3 separate regions of the Homo sapiens genome follow, and regions 1 and 3 are each linked to region 2. Evidence: promoter capture Hi-C in human tissues and cell types (Jung and others, 2019). All regions are on one chromosome and are shown on one strand. Each heading gives the region's core, a stretch centred on a gene start or on the middle of the fragment in contact. The rest is flanking DNA. Distances are from core to core; before and after follow the strand shown.

Region 1 (4,699 bases), core at 1,202-3,701, 710 kb after region 2:
ATAAGATTTCAGAAAGGATGCTTAAACAAGGTTTTCAAACACTCTAAAGATCTTTAGAGGCTGAGTGCAGTGGCTCATGCCTGTAATCCCAGCACTTTGGGAGGCTGAGGTGGGAGGATCATTTGAGTCCAGGAGTTTGAGACCAGCCTGGGCAACACAGTGAGACCTCATCTGTATAAAAATTTTTAAAAATTAGCTGGGTGTGGTGGCATGTGCCTGTGGTTCTAGCTACTTGGGAGGCTGAGGTGGGAGGATCACTTGAACCTGGGAGGTCGAGGCTGCAGTGAGCCATGATCATGCCACTGCACTCCAACCTGGGCAACAGAGCAAGACCCTATCTCAAAAAGAAAAAAAAAGATCTTTAGAAAAAAGGCATATTCCAGGAACAAATTATAATAGTATCAATCCCTGATAAAACATTAGGCTCTGATTTTTAACAGGTAGTTTATAATCAGTAGTAGTGACTAAGAATCAGCACAGCTTTTCTAGGGAAAATTATTTATCATTAATCTCATCTCCATTTTAAGGAAATCACTAAGTTCATGAATAAAGGGAATGTCGCAGACATATTATAGCTCAATTTTCACAAAGCGTGGATTCTAGTTCAATTAAGGGATTAACAATTTTTAATTGTTCAGTTATTTAACTTGTCATAACAACCTTAAATAACTCTACTCTTCAACTCGTCCATTGTAACACTTGATTGATATCTGGCTGAAGAGCTAAAAAACTTACTTATGAACTGTACAGATGACTCAGCACTGGGGGAAGAACTAAGACACTGCATTGGAGATTCAGACTTACAAGGATTTGAACATGTTCCAAAAGAGGGCAGAAAGGAAATGAAAACTAGGTTAAAAAAAAGTTCAGCAACACAAGGTCAGTATTGAGAGGCTGTGGCTTGACATTAGTTTAGTGGAGAAAGACCCAAAGTGTTAGCCAAGTGCAATTTAAATATGGGCCAACAATGTGATTTGGCTGTTTAAAAAGCTAATGCGATTTTAGGGTACATTAACACAGCCATAGTATCCATATCAGGTGGGTGATGGTCTTGCGGTGTTCTACGTTTTAGACATAGCACAAACAGTCTTCAATTTGGGGCATCTTGTTTTCAGCAGAAAATGATAAATCAAAGATTAACCAGAGGGCAAATAGAATTACAGATGATCAGGAAATCAAGTCATGTGAGGAATGGTGAGAAAACCTAGCAAGATTTAGTCCTAGAGAGAACATGAGAGCTGCTGTTAAACATTTGAATGTCTTGCAAAAGGAGGAGGTTCTTTTCATTGATTGGTTGGTTGGTTGCTTTTTCAATGTACTGCAAAGAGCGGAATTGAGAGGAAATCAATATAATGGTAGATTCCAAATTAAAGAAGTTTTACACTCAGGGCCAATGAAACCTGGAAGGGGCTTTCTTGTAAAGTATTAGGCAGAGTCCCAGAGAGCAGGAAGAGCACAGGCAAAGGGGCTGATGTGAAAAACTAAGAAACTGCCTCATAAATGGTAACCAGCAAAGGCTTTGGAGCCAGACAGACTGCAACCAACCCCATCTTTCTATACTAAATAGCTGCGTGACTAAGCAGGTTACTTAACCTCTCTGAGCTTCAGTTTCCATACTTATAAAATGGGAATAATAATAATAATATACTCATCTCACAGGATGTTTTGGATGAGTAAATAAAGTAATGCTATTATTGGTAACCCTTGAGGAAATCCCTTCAGTGAGACCTTAGATTGCAAACCTGCAAGGCAGCAAGCAAAATCCTGAACCTTGGCTTTTTATGATCTGATAAAAGCTCCTCTGCCTAGAAATCACATTAGCCCATGTTGAACATCACTGTGAAACTGGGGAGTCCACGGCACTTTTTGCTAACCAAAATAGGTCAAAGAACATTGTGATCTCATGTCCTCACTAACTCCTCTTTTCCCTTTCTCTGTCATAGAGAAAGTAATAAAGTCTTAACCCAGCTTTGACCATTACCTCTCCCACCTCCTTACTGGAACATTCACTCAGCTGTAGACTCAGGGCAGAACCTTTCTGCATTCGAAACCAAGCAAGCTAGGCCAGCTTTAGGGTCCAGGACTGTCTTAACCATTGCAGAATCCCACCCAGCAGATGGCAAGAGCAGTGCAAGGATACCTGGATCCTGCTTGGCATTGCACGTCTTAAGGAGTTAGACCAGGGAACCGTGGTAGACAGAATTCCAGGCTCCACCCCTGGTGAACATGCCATATGATTCCCTTCCCTCAAGTGTGAGCAGGGCTGTAAATGTGGTAGATTTCATTCCCACAATTAGGTAAAGGGGTGAAGGGATTTTGCAGATATAATTGATGTACCAAATCAGGTGACATAGGGTTAATCAAAAGGAGATTATCCTGAGCAAATTAGACGAGCCCTTACAAGAGAGTAGGCCCTTCCTGGCCGGGCGCGGTGGCTACGCCTGTAATTCCAGCACTTTGGGAGGCCGAGGTGGGCGGATCACGAGGTCAGGCGATCGAGACCATCCTGGCTAACATGGTGAAACCCCATCTCCACTAAAAATACGAAAAAGTAGCCGGGCCTGGTGGCGGGCGCCTGTAGTCCCAGCTACTTGGGAGGCTGAGGCAGGAGAATGGCATGAACCCAGGAGGTGGAAGTTGCAGTGAGCCGAGATCAGGCCACTGCACTCCAGCCTAGGTGACAGAGCAAGCCTCCGTCTCAAAAAAAAAAAAAAAAAAAAGGAGAGTAGGCCCTTCCTGAAGGAAGAGATTTGAAGTACAAAAGATTTTCCTGCTGACTTTGAAGAAGTAAACTGCTTTGTTGTGAGGGGGCCTGTGTAGAAAGCAATGTGACAAAGAACTCTTAGCCTTCAGGCTGCGCGCAGTGGTTCACGTCTGTAATCCCAGCACTTTGGGAGGCTGGGGCAGGTGGATCACTTGAGGTCAGGAGTTTGAGACCAGCCTGGCCAATGTGATGAAACCCCATCTCTACTAAAAATACAAAAATTAGCCGGGCATGGTGGCGGGTGCCTGTAATTCCATCTACTCAGGAGGCTGAGGCAGGAGAATTGCTTGAACCTGCAAGGCAGAGGTTGCCGTGAGCCAAGATTATGCCACTGCACTCCAGCCTAGGCAACAGAGCAAGACTCCATCTCAAAAAAAAAAAAAAAAAACTCTTAGCCTCTAGGAGTTGCTTCCAGCCAACAGCCAGCAAGAACAACAGCCTGCAAAAAGATGGGGGCCTCAGTCATACGGTCATAAGGAAATGAATTCTGCCAACCACCAGTGAGCTTGGAAGAAGACCTTGAGCCTCAGAGGGGAATGCAGAGCAACTACCCATTAAAATGGTGAGACCCTGACTAGAAAATTCAGTTAACTCATGCCCGGACTTCTGACCCATGGAAAGTGTGAGATAATAAATTTGTGTAGCTTGCAGTCACTAAGTTTGCAGTGATGTGTTATGTAGCAATAGAAAACAAACGGAGGAGCAAGAAACCTGTTTGGCCTGTCCTTGTCACCCTCTCGTGATAGCCACATGTTCTATGCCATTGCAATAAGAAACCAGTGTGCCCTTTTGGCCAGAAAAGAAAGGCAGTCTTAATTCTGGCAGCCCTGGGTGGAGATTTGCCTCCCCAGGAGCCTGGCAAGTAGGAAAAGGTGGATAAGTGGGTTCTCTTCTCGCTGTGACTGGGCAGGCTGGTGCCCAGGCTGAGGAGAGACAGACGCTTCTGGGGCAAAGCAATCTCCAAACCCCCTCTTCCCCTCCCCAGGTGAGACTCTGTGAGACTGTGAAAAGCACTATTTTACAAATAACCAGCAGGCTGATTACAAAGACTTCTTAGCTGTTCCCTAAAGTGATTCTTCCAAGAAACACTTTGCTGCAATTAGGTATGTCACTGATAACAATAAGTTGTATATATTTTTAAAGTATAATGACATTTTCCTTCATTTATTTTTTATTTTTTTAAATTTTTTTCTTTGAGATGGAGTCTCACTCTGTCGCCCAGGCTGGAGTGCAATGGTGTGATCTCAGCTCACTGCAAACTCCACCTCCCAGGTTCAAGCTATTCTCCTGCCTCAGCCTCCCGAGTAGCTGGTATTACAGGCGCCCATCACCAGACCCAGCTAATTTTTGTATTTTTAGTAGAGACGGGGTTTCACCATGTTGGCCAGGCTGGTCTTGAACTCCTGACCTTAAGTGATCCACCCACCTCTGCCTCCCGAAGTGTTGAGATTACAGGCATGAGCCACCACACCTGGCACATTTTCCTTAATTTAGATTGGCCTTTGCCACAATTAACCCAAACCAGTGAGGCTTTGCAGTCAATCGTGATGAGACCTGCAAGGGCATAGAGATGGTTTCACCACGTGTTTCAGTCATGGATCGGCCACTTTTTGTGTAGTCTTGATTATGTGTCACTCTTTCACACCTGTCAACTGGGGTGAAGCAGTTGTGACAGTCCAATGGACTTTGTGAATGGGCAAGTCTAACGTGGACCTGAGACAGAGGCACACTTGGGGCGTGCACTGAATGGGTGTCAGGCTCCCAGACCTCTGGGTGAGGCGCTGGCAGGAGGGCCCTCCCCTTAGAGCTTGCTGGAGGGGAGCTCAGCTCCTTAACTGCAACCGCCACTCAGGGCCAGAGTGGAGAGCCTGATGTGCTATGTGATACCCTAGCCCAGCTCCAGAAGGTCTGGGATATGGCATCAGAGCTGAGACC
Region 2 (4,557 bases), core at 1,136-3,635:
CAGTAAATATCTGTTTCAAGTAACTGGAAGCCATTAACACTGGTAAAAACACAGAATCCAAAAGAATTTTGGACGTTTTAGCAACACAATACTATGGCAACACGGCAGAGAAAATAATTCTGACTTTTAAAATAAGATAACGCACTGTACTTTCAGTTTAACTGTTCCTTAATTGAGTACAACCTAACTTTGATTCAGCTACTTTATTAGGAAAAATGCACTTGAGTCCACAGTCCAGAATATTTCCAATGCCACGGATCTCATGCAATGTATGAAGAAATTTCTTTCACAGAGATGACAGCCCAGCAGGCAATAAAAGATACATGTAAATCATCAGGCACAGGAGTACAAACTCAACTGCAGAACTGTTCAGAGGGCATAGAAATAAAACTTAATTTTTTTTCTTTTATTTAGGAATGCATGCCCATTCACTTTTTCACAAGCCCATTTTATTAAAGAAATAAAAATAAGCCTGCAATTAAAATAAAATGAGGGAGCTCCATAAGTCTATTTCTGTTCAACAATTCAAATATTCTTAAATTCTTGGAGACAGTAAAGAGTCTCTCCTCCACCATCGGTCAACCACACACACACTCTACTCTGAAGAACTGGTTGAAACAGGCAAAAACTGGAGGTCACTGTTTTAAAATATAGGTATCTATATACAAATAGAATATGTCTGCCTCATCTTTCACTTCCAACAATAAAAAAGCCAGGGCGAGCACTAAGAGCAGCAGATCCGATTCATCTAGGGAACCACAGACTGTCAGTGCACAGTAATTCCTGCAAAAGGTAACAGATCTGACCAGATCATGTTGCTGCCATTTCCCAGAGAAAAGACAGACCAGTGGCACCCACACCCATCTTCATCTGAAACACATATTCCAGGAAAAGTAGGAGACTGCTCCCAGGAAGGAAGGCTTAATTTACCGTGCATGCCAGCAGATGATTCAGGAAGCCACAGGAGGAAAAAGCCAGGGGAACACTGTCCCGGGTAGGCGTGCCTCCAGAAATCTCTGTATCCCTGACCCGCAGTACTTCCTAGGATCTTTCACACCCTGAGCTGGCTGGAGTCGTGTGAAAATGGCAAGGACTCCCTTCACCACTATTCCGAACCTCAAGCCAGCCACCAATGAGGGTCACCCAACCCAACGCCCTCCGGAACGGTGCTCTTTTGCCGGCCTCTTCTCCCCTACTGACTTCTCCAAGGGCCAGCCTGCAAGGCTTGGCATGGGCTGCCCATCCCCTGGGAGGGCTGACTGCCCCGCCAGGGCTGTTGGAGCCTGGACACAGGAGAGACAAAGGGCTGGGAGGGGGAACTGGGCTCCTCCCCTGGGACCACGGAGCTCCTCTCCTCTCAGGTGCTGGGGTCTGACCCCAACCCTCTTCCAAGGTCCCCAAACTTCGCTAACAATGCAAGCACCTGTTCCCTTCACCTCTTCTGCATTTGAGTCCCTCAAGTCCTTCCATTTTCCTCCAGCTTTTTCTCCAGTACCTTAGACAAACCAAACGCCCTACTTCCCCGAGTCCAACACGCTCCCCTTCCATGACATAATTCAACCTCGTTCCCAACGAAGCCCCCAGATGGTCGCTGTCCCCCACCCAGAAGTTTCCCCTGGGTGTGCCCGAGTCCCCAAAGATTTCCTTCAAGTCTCACCCATGCGCCCCAGCCTTCTCCTTCCAAGTCCCCAAAATTCACATCAGGGTCTTCCCCTAGGTGTCCCACAGCCTCCCAGGTCCCCGTGCAAACGACCCCGGGGGCCACCCGGGCCTCCGTCTCCGCCGCGTCCGCTGACAGCAGAGGGCACGGAGGGGCCCCCTGGGCCCCCGCGTTTCCACCCGGCCCCCAACCGCCGCCGGCCGGCAGTTAACGGCCGGCGCCTCACCTTGGTTCACCAGGCGCAGGGCGTGCGTGAAGGAGGGGTCCAGGGAGTCCTTCTCCGCCATCAGCTCGGGCAGGTACTTCTCCTCCATGCTCGCCGGCCGCCGGGCCCGGGATGTGGACTCCAGGCGCACGGGGGGCGGCGCCCGGCAACCCCCGACCCCGCCCGCGCCCCCAGCGGCGGGGACCCGGGGGCCAGACGCGGCAGCAGCGGCCAAGCCGGGCGGTCGGCCGGAAGGCGGCGGCGGCGGCACGGGGGCGGGAACCGACCGCTCAGCCCCGATCCCCGGTGGCCGCCGAGTACCCAGCGCCGGCGGCCCCCGCGCTCCGGGCGCGGGCCGAGGAGGAGCGGGCGCGGGCGGCGCGGTTAGGCGGGCCCTCGGGCCGAGCGGGCTGCGGCGCCCCTGAGGCAGTCCACGGCGATCCCCGCCAGTCCCGCCAGCACCTGCCAGCACCCGAGCCACAGCTGCGACCTGCACGCCGCGCGCCGCCCCGCGCACTCTGAGCCACCGCGCCGAGCGCCCAGCGCCTGCCGCCGGCCCCGCCCCGCCCGGCTCCGCCCCGCCCCGCCCCGCGCCCGCCGCCCCGCCCTGCCGCGCCGCGCCTGCGCACTGGCGCCCACCGCCCCGCCGCCCGCCGCCTCCTGGGGCCGCTCTCCACTGCGAGTCCGCCGGGACTAACCGGGCGTTTGCGAGAGGGGGTGCGTCCAAGGGCCCCTCCCGCGTGTCCGGCGCCCACCTTTGGCCCTGAGGGCCGAGTGGGGAGCCCCACGACGCTATTACAGCCTTTCAGATGCACGGACTGGGAAACTGGGGCTCAGAGAAGTCAAGTGGCTCGCCCAAGGTCACCCAGCGAGTGATCCTGGGAAGAGGGGACAAGGGCCGAGCTGGAGCTGGGAAGGGCGCCCCAGTTCGCCCCAGTCGCGCTCTGAGGAATAGCAGCGGGACCGCCCTGCTCTCTAAAGCTTCCTGGACTTCTCTAAGTTATGTCGCGTTGCTGTCCCCTCGTACTTATAAGAGAGTAAGGCAGGGGCGCCGTCCTTTCTCCGCGCCTGAGCTCAGAGCGCCAACCTCCTGAGATCCGCCAGCTCAGAGGTCGGTTACATAAAAGCGCGTGCCCTTCTGGGCGTCTTTGTCATCCCGACTTGCTCCTGGGTTGTCATTCTCTTAGGTCATAAACCGGCTGTGCCTGGACACAGCTGAGTGAGCCGCGTCTGAGCTCATCCGCTCCTGGGGAGAGGCCCTGGGACGCCCCGCCTGTCGGTGGCAATGCTCTCTGTCCCCTTCCGCCCACCCCCAACCCCCAGCAAATGCTCTCCAAGGCCATTTCAGATTTCCCGAGGCATGTGGAATAAACGTCCCCCAGGAAGGCGAAGGACTCCAGTCCTTGCCCTGCCATTTTTCCTGCCTTCAAACAGCCAGCTCAAGTCCCGGCCTCAATGTCACCTTCCCTGGACAGCCTCTCAGGACCTCCCTGGCAAAGCAAGTCACAAGTCCCTTCTCTGTGTCCCCCCAGCTTGGTCAGAGGTCATTCACAGACAGCTGTAATTCTGTTTTCAGTAGACCATGAGCATCAGGGACAGAGTTTGAGTTTTGTTTTTGAGGGGGAAGGTCACCAGTGTGTAGTACAGGGGGCAGGGATGGAGGGTACTGGAAATGTCTCTTGGAGGAATAAGTCAGTGGCATACCACTCTCAGCCAATAGCCTGAGGACAATCGCCACAGTCCCCCAGGCAGCCCCCCCGCACTCCCAATGCAAATGGAGGCAGCTTTACAAACCCGAGGGGAGTGGGAGGTGGTAGAAATCTTGGAAGCTCTAAGTCCCAGACCCGAGTACTCAACTGCCCTCACTCTCAAGGCTCCACTCCTCCCCCGGCTAAGGTGTCATTTCAGAGTCCCCAGTAAGAGTCTTCTTCATGGCTCTCTTCAGTCTCAACTTGCAAGAAGCAGAAAAATGGCACAGTTAAAAGCAAAGCCTCTGGGGTTAAACAGCCTGGATTTGGAATCATGGATCTGCTGCTCACTAGCTGTGACCTTGGGCAAGTTTCTTCACCTCAGGGTCCTCATCCGTCAAGTGGAGATGACAACCAAACTTATTTCATAAGAAGTTCATGAGAATAAATATGTTAACTCATAATGAAATACCCAAAACAGCACTCTGCCTATCGGAAATGCTGAGCTGATCTTTGCTTTGGGTTTTTTCCGGCTGCAAGGCTGTCCTCTGGGCCTTCTGAGCCTCCCTCGCCTTCCCTTCAGCTGTAACTCCAGGGATGCTGGGCAGACACCCATCTGTGGACTCCTCACTGCTGGTCGTGGTGCTTCGCCCCGGCCTGGCCAACTGAGTGAAGGACCTGTGACTGTCGCACCTCTGTTTCTGACCTGGGCCCAGCGTCAGGCTTGTAGGCTGCTTGTGGCTGCTCTTCTCAATCCCAGGTCTATGACTGGCCTCTCAGCCCCAGAAACAAAAAGGGCACTTCCCAAACCACCCTCACCCAGAAGGGCAGGAGTCTGGATGCCTGCATCCTGGCTGCTACCTGCCTCACTATGCCACTTTGTTAATTAACTTAGAGCCTGAGCTTCCCAGTCCACACCCCCAAAACCAGGGGTATGCCAGTAGTCCTGCTGGACAACAGGAGGGACTCATAGGACAATGTCTTTTCCTTTTACAACTGAAGGG
Region 3 (4,636 bases), core at 1,243-3,742, 630 kb after region 2:
AGAGCTAAATTAGAGGAATGGGCTGGAAGTCTAAGTGTGTCTGAATCCCAAGGTGCCTGCCTGCACAGCCCTGAGGTCACAGGCTCCTTGCCTGCTGGGAAAACCTTACTACTTGATGGATGCTGGGTAAATGCTGGTTAATTGAGTTAATCTTTCTTCAGCTAGTTAGAGACGTGGAGGACCTGGAGCTCCTTGCTGTTTACACCTTAACCAAAATGTAGGGGCCCCAAGGGAATTGAGGAAAGCACCCCACCTTATTGCTCGTTCAGATGCAAATTCAGAAGCTGAACAACTGCCCTCCAAAAGTTGCACCAAGGCCCTTATGTCCAGCTCTAAACCTTTGCGGGGATGGGAGGGAGGTGGGGACTACCAAGTGATCCACAGATCACAAGCGATGCTCTTTAAGGTGGTTTTTCTGAAATGTTTTATTACCCCTGCTTAAGGGAAGGCTTTGTAGGACAAAGAGTATTGAACTTGAAGCCTGGGTCTCCACCACTACCTGACCTTGAGTGAGTCATTTAGTTTTTTAATCTCTTTGAGTCCCGTGTTCCCAGTTGTAAAATATGGAGGTTGTGGGCTCCATAATAATAGCTAGGCATTTAGGATCTATAACGTGCCAGGTGAGGCGTTTTCCGCGTTATCTCTTTTGATCCTCACAACTACCTTGGTAGACTTCACTAATCCCATTTTACCCGAGACGTTCGGTTGAGAGCGCTTTGATGGCATGCCCAATATCACGCAGCGAGAGTGGCGGATCCGGATTCCACTTCAAAGCTGCCTGACCCTAACACTACGCAGCCCCAGTTTGATCGCAGGTAACCTCCTCCGAGATTTCCCTCAACTGCCCGCTCGGTTCCTTCTCCGCCTCTCCTCGCTTCACTGGCGTCCAAAGCGCCCCTTCGGGCACCGGACATGCTCAGTAACGCATGAAGACTTTTCGCTCTGCCTCGGGAAATTTTTCACGCCACTCCGGGAGCCGAGCCCGCCCCGCCCACGGCTCCTCCTCACGGGATTGGTCAAATTCCGGGAGGCAGCGAGGGAAGGGAGGCAGGCGGAGGTCCAAATTACCTCCCAAACCCCAGCGCTCTGGGCGCGCGCGCCCCGAGAGTGCGTGCCTGCGTGCGTGCGTGTGAGTGAGCACGTGAGGGCCCCAGAACGTGCACAGTGGGCGGGGACAGGAAATGGGAAGCGAGGGGCGGGGGTTGCCGTTGCCATGGCAGTGACGTCAGGCGTCGGGGAGCGAACCCGGCCCCTTCCCCACGCGCGCGCGCACACACACACAGAGACATGTACACGCGCGCGCACAGCCGCTCTCCCTCAGACACACTGGAGGGAAAGGTCAAACTAAAGGCGAGGGAGCAGAGAGACCGGAGGGAGCCGCTGCCGCCGCCGCGCGCCATGACGGACGCGGCGGAGGCTGCTTTCTCAGTGCGGACGCCGCCGATCCCCAGCTCTCGCCGCGCCCCCTGCCCCCCGCCCCTCGCGCGCCCCTCACCCTGGCGCTGGCGCGTCCCCGCGCCCTCTCCCCCGGCCGCTCCAGGCGCGCCTCGGGCTCGGGGCGCGGGGCGCTGGGAGCGGGAGGGTGGGGGCCGCGGCGGGCCGGCGGCCTCCTCGCCCGACCCCCGACCCCGGGCCAGGTGAGTGCCTTGGGGCGGGAGAGGGCGTCCGGAGCGGAGAGGACACCGGGCGCTCAGCCCCCCGCCTGACCCCCTTCCGGGGCGCTGACAGGCTCTCGGGACACGGCCTCTGGGGGGCGTCGTGGGGTCACTTGTGTCGGGGGGTGCTTTTTTGGCGCCCCCGTCCCTCAGGGTCGGGCGTCCGAGTCGTGGGGGGCTCGGGGCCGGGAAGTGGGCGCTGCGGTGCGGCCCTGGAGTGCAGCCGCGGCGACAGGGTATGGGGCGGGCGGCGGGAGGCAGGTGGGCCCCTCCCCGGGGCTCGTGAAGTGGGGGGACCGGGCGTGGGGGCCGCGGGAAGCTTTCGGGAAATGTTTATCCGGCAGTTGCAAGAAACTCTGCCCTCGGGACGAGGCGCCTTGCTTTTTGCCGGGGCCAGCGAAAGTGGCGGATTTCACAGCAAAACTCGGGTGAAGCCAGGCTGGACCGGCCGGGAGTGAGAGAGGCCGGGAGCACCCGTCTGGATGGGGACCAGAGATGAACGAATCCGCCTGTGTGTAGCACCAGGGCATGATGTGTGCACGTTGCTATGCCAGTGTTTAATGTTTGTTGCTTATGGTTATTTTAGGACTAAATGATAAAAAAGTTACTTGGGAGAGAGGGAACTGCTTGATTTGACATGAGTTCTTCACTTGTGCATGCAGGAAATACATTAATCCTGTACACACACAACTGAATTTATGTCCAGTGGACTTTACAAATAATATACACAAAATTCTAAAGCCCCGAAGCAAGGTGATGTGTGTCTGAAGAGTTTCAGGTGTCAGGCTCCGTGTTCCGTGGGAACAAAATAGGAGGACACCGAAGTACTTGATATGCCCAAGCAGTCATCTTTTTGTAATAAGCTTTGGATACCATCAAAGTGGAGTTTAGTTGTAACTGCCAGGGTTAAGTAATCGCATTGACCCGGTGCCACCCACCAGTTTGGAGCTTCTCTGAAAGTAATTTACGAGACAGTCCTGTGCTGATTGTGAATAACCAGTGCTTTTGCTGATTTTTTTCCTGTTTAATTTTACACTGTCATCATGTATGTGTATGCTACCTGTTTACCAAACGTTAGAATGAATTATCCATAGTTAAACTCTCCACTAAATCACTAAATCAGGTACTAGCTGTGGCATGTCTTTAAAAATATATATATTTGAATGTTACCTGGAAATTACCGATATAATGGTTTCAAGCTGATAGGGATTTTTTGAACTTAAGTCTAGCATAAACATTATCCCAAGTGGATGTGTTTTAAAATTTAAATCTCATCTAAGAAAACTTCCTGGTTTGTGAAAGGTGCAGGATTGTGATGATAGCTGAGGAAATGCCAGAGAGAATTTTTGGTAGAGAATAAGAGAACAACCTGTGAATTTGGTGTTAACCAGCAGTCTCGGCATATACTCACTTGCTCCTTACCTAAGCATTTCTGATATGTGGGTGCTTTTTCTGTTGATTATGTATCTTTGGTTATTTGTCATTTTCAAAAAGTTTCCTCAACAGAGGACCCTCACTTTGAAATTGAGTCCTTGTGGCATGTAGCCGGGATACCAAAAGTTTTCAGTACCAGATGCAGAGAGAGATCAGTCCGTTTGGGATCTTGTTAATTCTTTCTGTGCAGCTACTTTTGTGCTGTGAGGTCTCTTTTACATCTTGCTCCTATTGGCCATAGCTGACATATGTCTGTATACAGTCCTGTAGTGGGGTACTTAATTGTTACAACCTGAAAAGATTATTTCTTGTAATATATAAATAAATTTTTATGTTTTTCTCTCTTCTCTCTTTTTCAAGGGAACTGTAGAATTGGACAAATCAACACTTAGCATGTCCCCCTCCTGTAGGTCTTGTTGACCTTGGTGGCATCGTGGAGGTCATATGTTCATGGAGATAAACAGTTCTTGAACGGTTTACTCCAGGTGGTAAAAACACATGGGAAAGTGATTTGGGCTGTGCGTATCTTGGTTTTTTAAAAAATCATTTTTATCGAGCGTTTATTGTGATCATGGCCAAAAATAAAATAATTCTTTGACTTTTTTTGAAATACTATACACACATTTCTATATTACATTTTTAAGAATTGCTTATTTTTCAATTTTTCTAGTATTTCTTGTATATTCTACCACAGGTGAACAACTCATTTTTTGGGTGACATTTTTAGAGCTTGCTTGAGGGGCACTAGAAAGAAGGGCAGTAATGTGATGTGAATGTTTCAGCTTATGAAAACAGCTGTGCTCTACTTTAAGAAATTTGACATTTAAAAGTGTAAGATTGCAAAACAAATTAATTACTAGTTGGTTATATTATGTGAGAATTTTAAAAAAGGGATTCACTAAAAGTTGTTTTCAAATACTTAATCCCTTTAAATGGTATTTATCTAATGTGATTTGATTTGTGAATAATCAGTTGGCATACAACAATTTAGGAACAGATTTTTGGCATATGTAAGGGTTATCAGTGTGTTCTTTGAGTTCTCTCTTTACCAAAAGTATTTGGGGACAAAGTTAAATTCAGTGTTGTTCCACTTATATGCCACCTATAATGGTTTAACTGAGTGGGAAAATTGTCATCTGATTTATCCCATATCATTTAAGGCAGCGGTGTCCAATCTTTTGGCCTCCCCGGGCCACGTTGGAAGAAGAAGAATTGTCTTGGGCCACACATCAAATGCATTAACAATAACTAATGAGCTTAAAAAATTGCAACAAAAATTTCATATTTTTAGAAAGTTTACACATTTGTGTTGGGCCTCATTCAAAGCTGTCCTGGGCCATGGGTTGGACAAGCCTGATTTAAGGAGTACATTGAAGCCTAATTAAAATGCTTTTCACCATTGAGTAAAACTTTATGATCAGGTTTGTCAGGAACCTCATCCAAGGTAGTTTAGTTAGTGGAGTATCAAAAGCACCTTGTTGTCAGACACTCTCACTAGGACAGTGGTCCCCCAGCAGAGGCCAACAAGCAGTTATACCCAAACTTCA

The links. The method cuts DNA at HindIII sites, captures the fragments that hold promoters and counts their contacts. A contact is called where the count stands out against the background at its distance.
Region 1: a contact is called between a fragment that was not itself captured here and the fragment with the promoter of KHDRBS3 in region 2, in 1 of the 25 tissues and cell types used here (dorsolateral prefrontal cortex).
Region 3: a contact is called between a fragment that was not itself captured here and the fragment with the promoter of KHDRBS3 in region 2, in 1 of the 25 tissues and cell types used here (dorsolateral prefrontal cortex).

Annotation. Positions count from the first base shown.
Region 1 is chr8:134,742,749-134,747,447 of GRCh38, reverse strand. It overlaps a transcript of ZFAT not described here. Among named protein-coding and RNA genes, the nearest start is that of ZFAT, 32 kb to the right of the region's middle. The HindIII fragment of the contact is 5,573 bases long and covers 1-4,699 here.
Region 2 is chr8:135,455,284-135,459,840 of GRCh38, reverse strand. KHDRBS3 (KH RNA binding domain containing, signal transduction associated 3) reads right to left here and starts at 2,385. Exons shown (of 9, transcript NM_006558.3): 1 at 1,887-2,385. The coding sequence starts at 1,974. LOC101927872 (a long non-coding RNA gene) reads left to right here and starts at 1,866. Exons shown (of 4, transcript XR_002956731.2): 1 at 1,866-1,959. RefSeq lists a silencer at 2,214-2,513. The HindIII fragment of the contact is 4,912 bases long and covers 1-4,455 here.
Region 3 is chr8:134,828,983-134,833,618 of GRCh38, reverse strand. It overlaps a transcript of ZFAT not described here. Among named protein-coding and RNA genes, the nearest start is that of NCRNA00250, 6.8 kb to the left of the region's middle. RefSeq lists a silencer at 1,451-1,940. The HindIII fragment of the contact is 4,779 bases long and covers 103-4,636 here.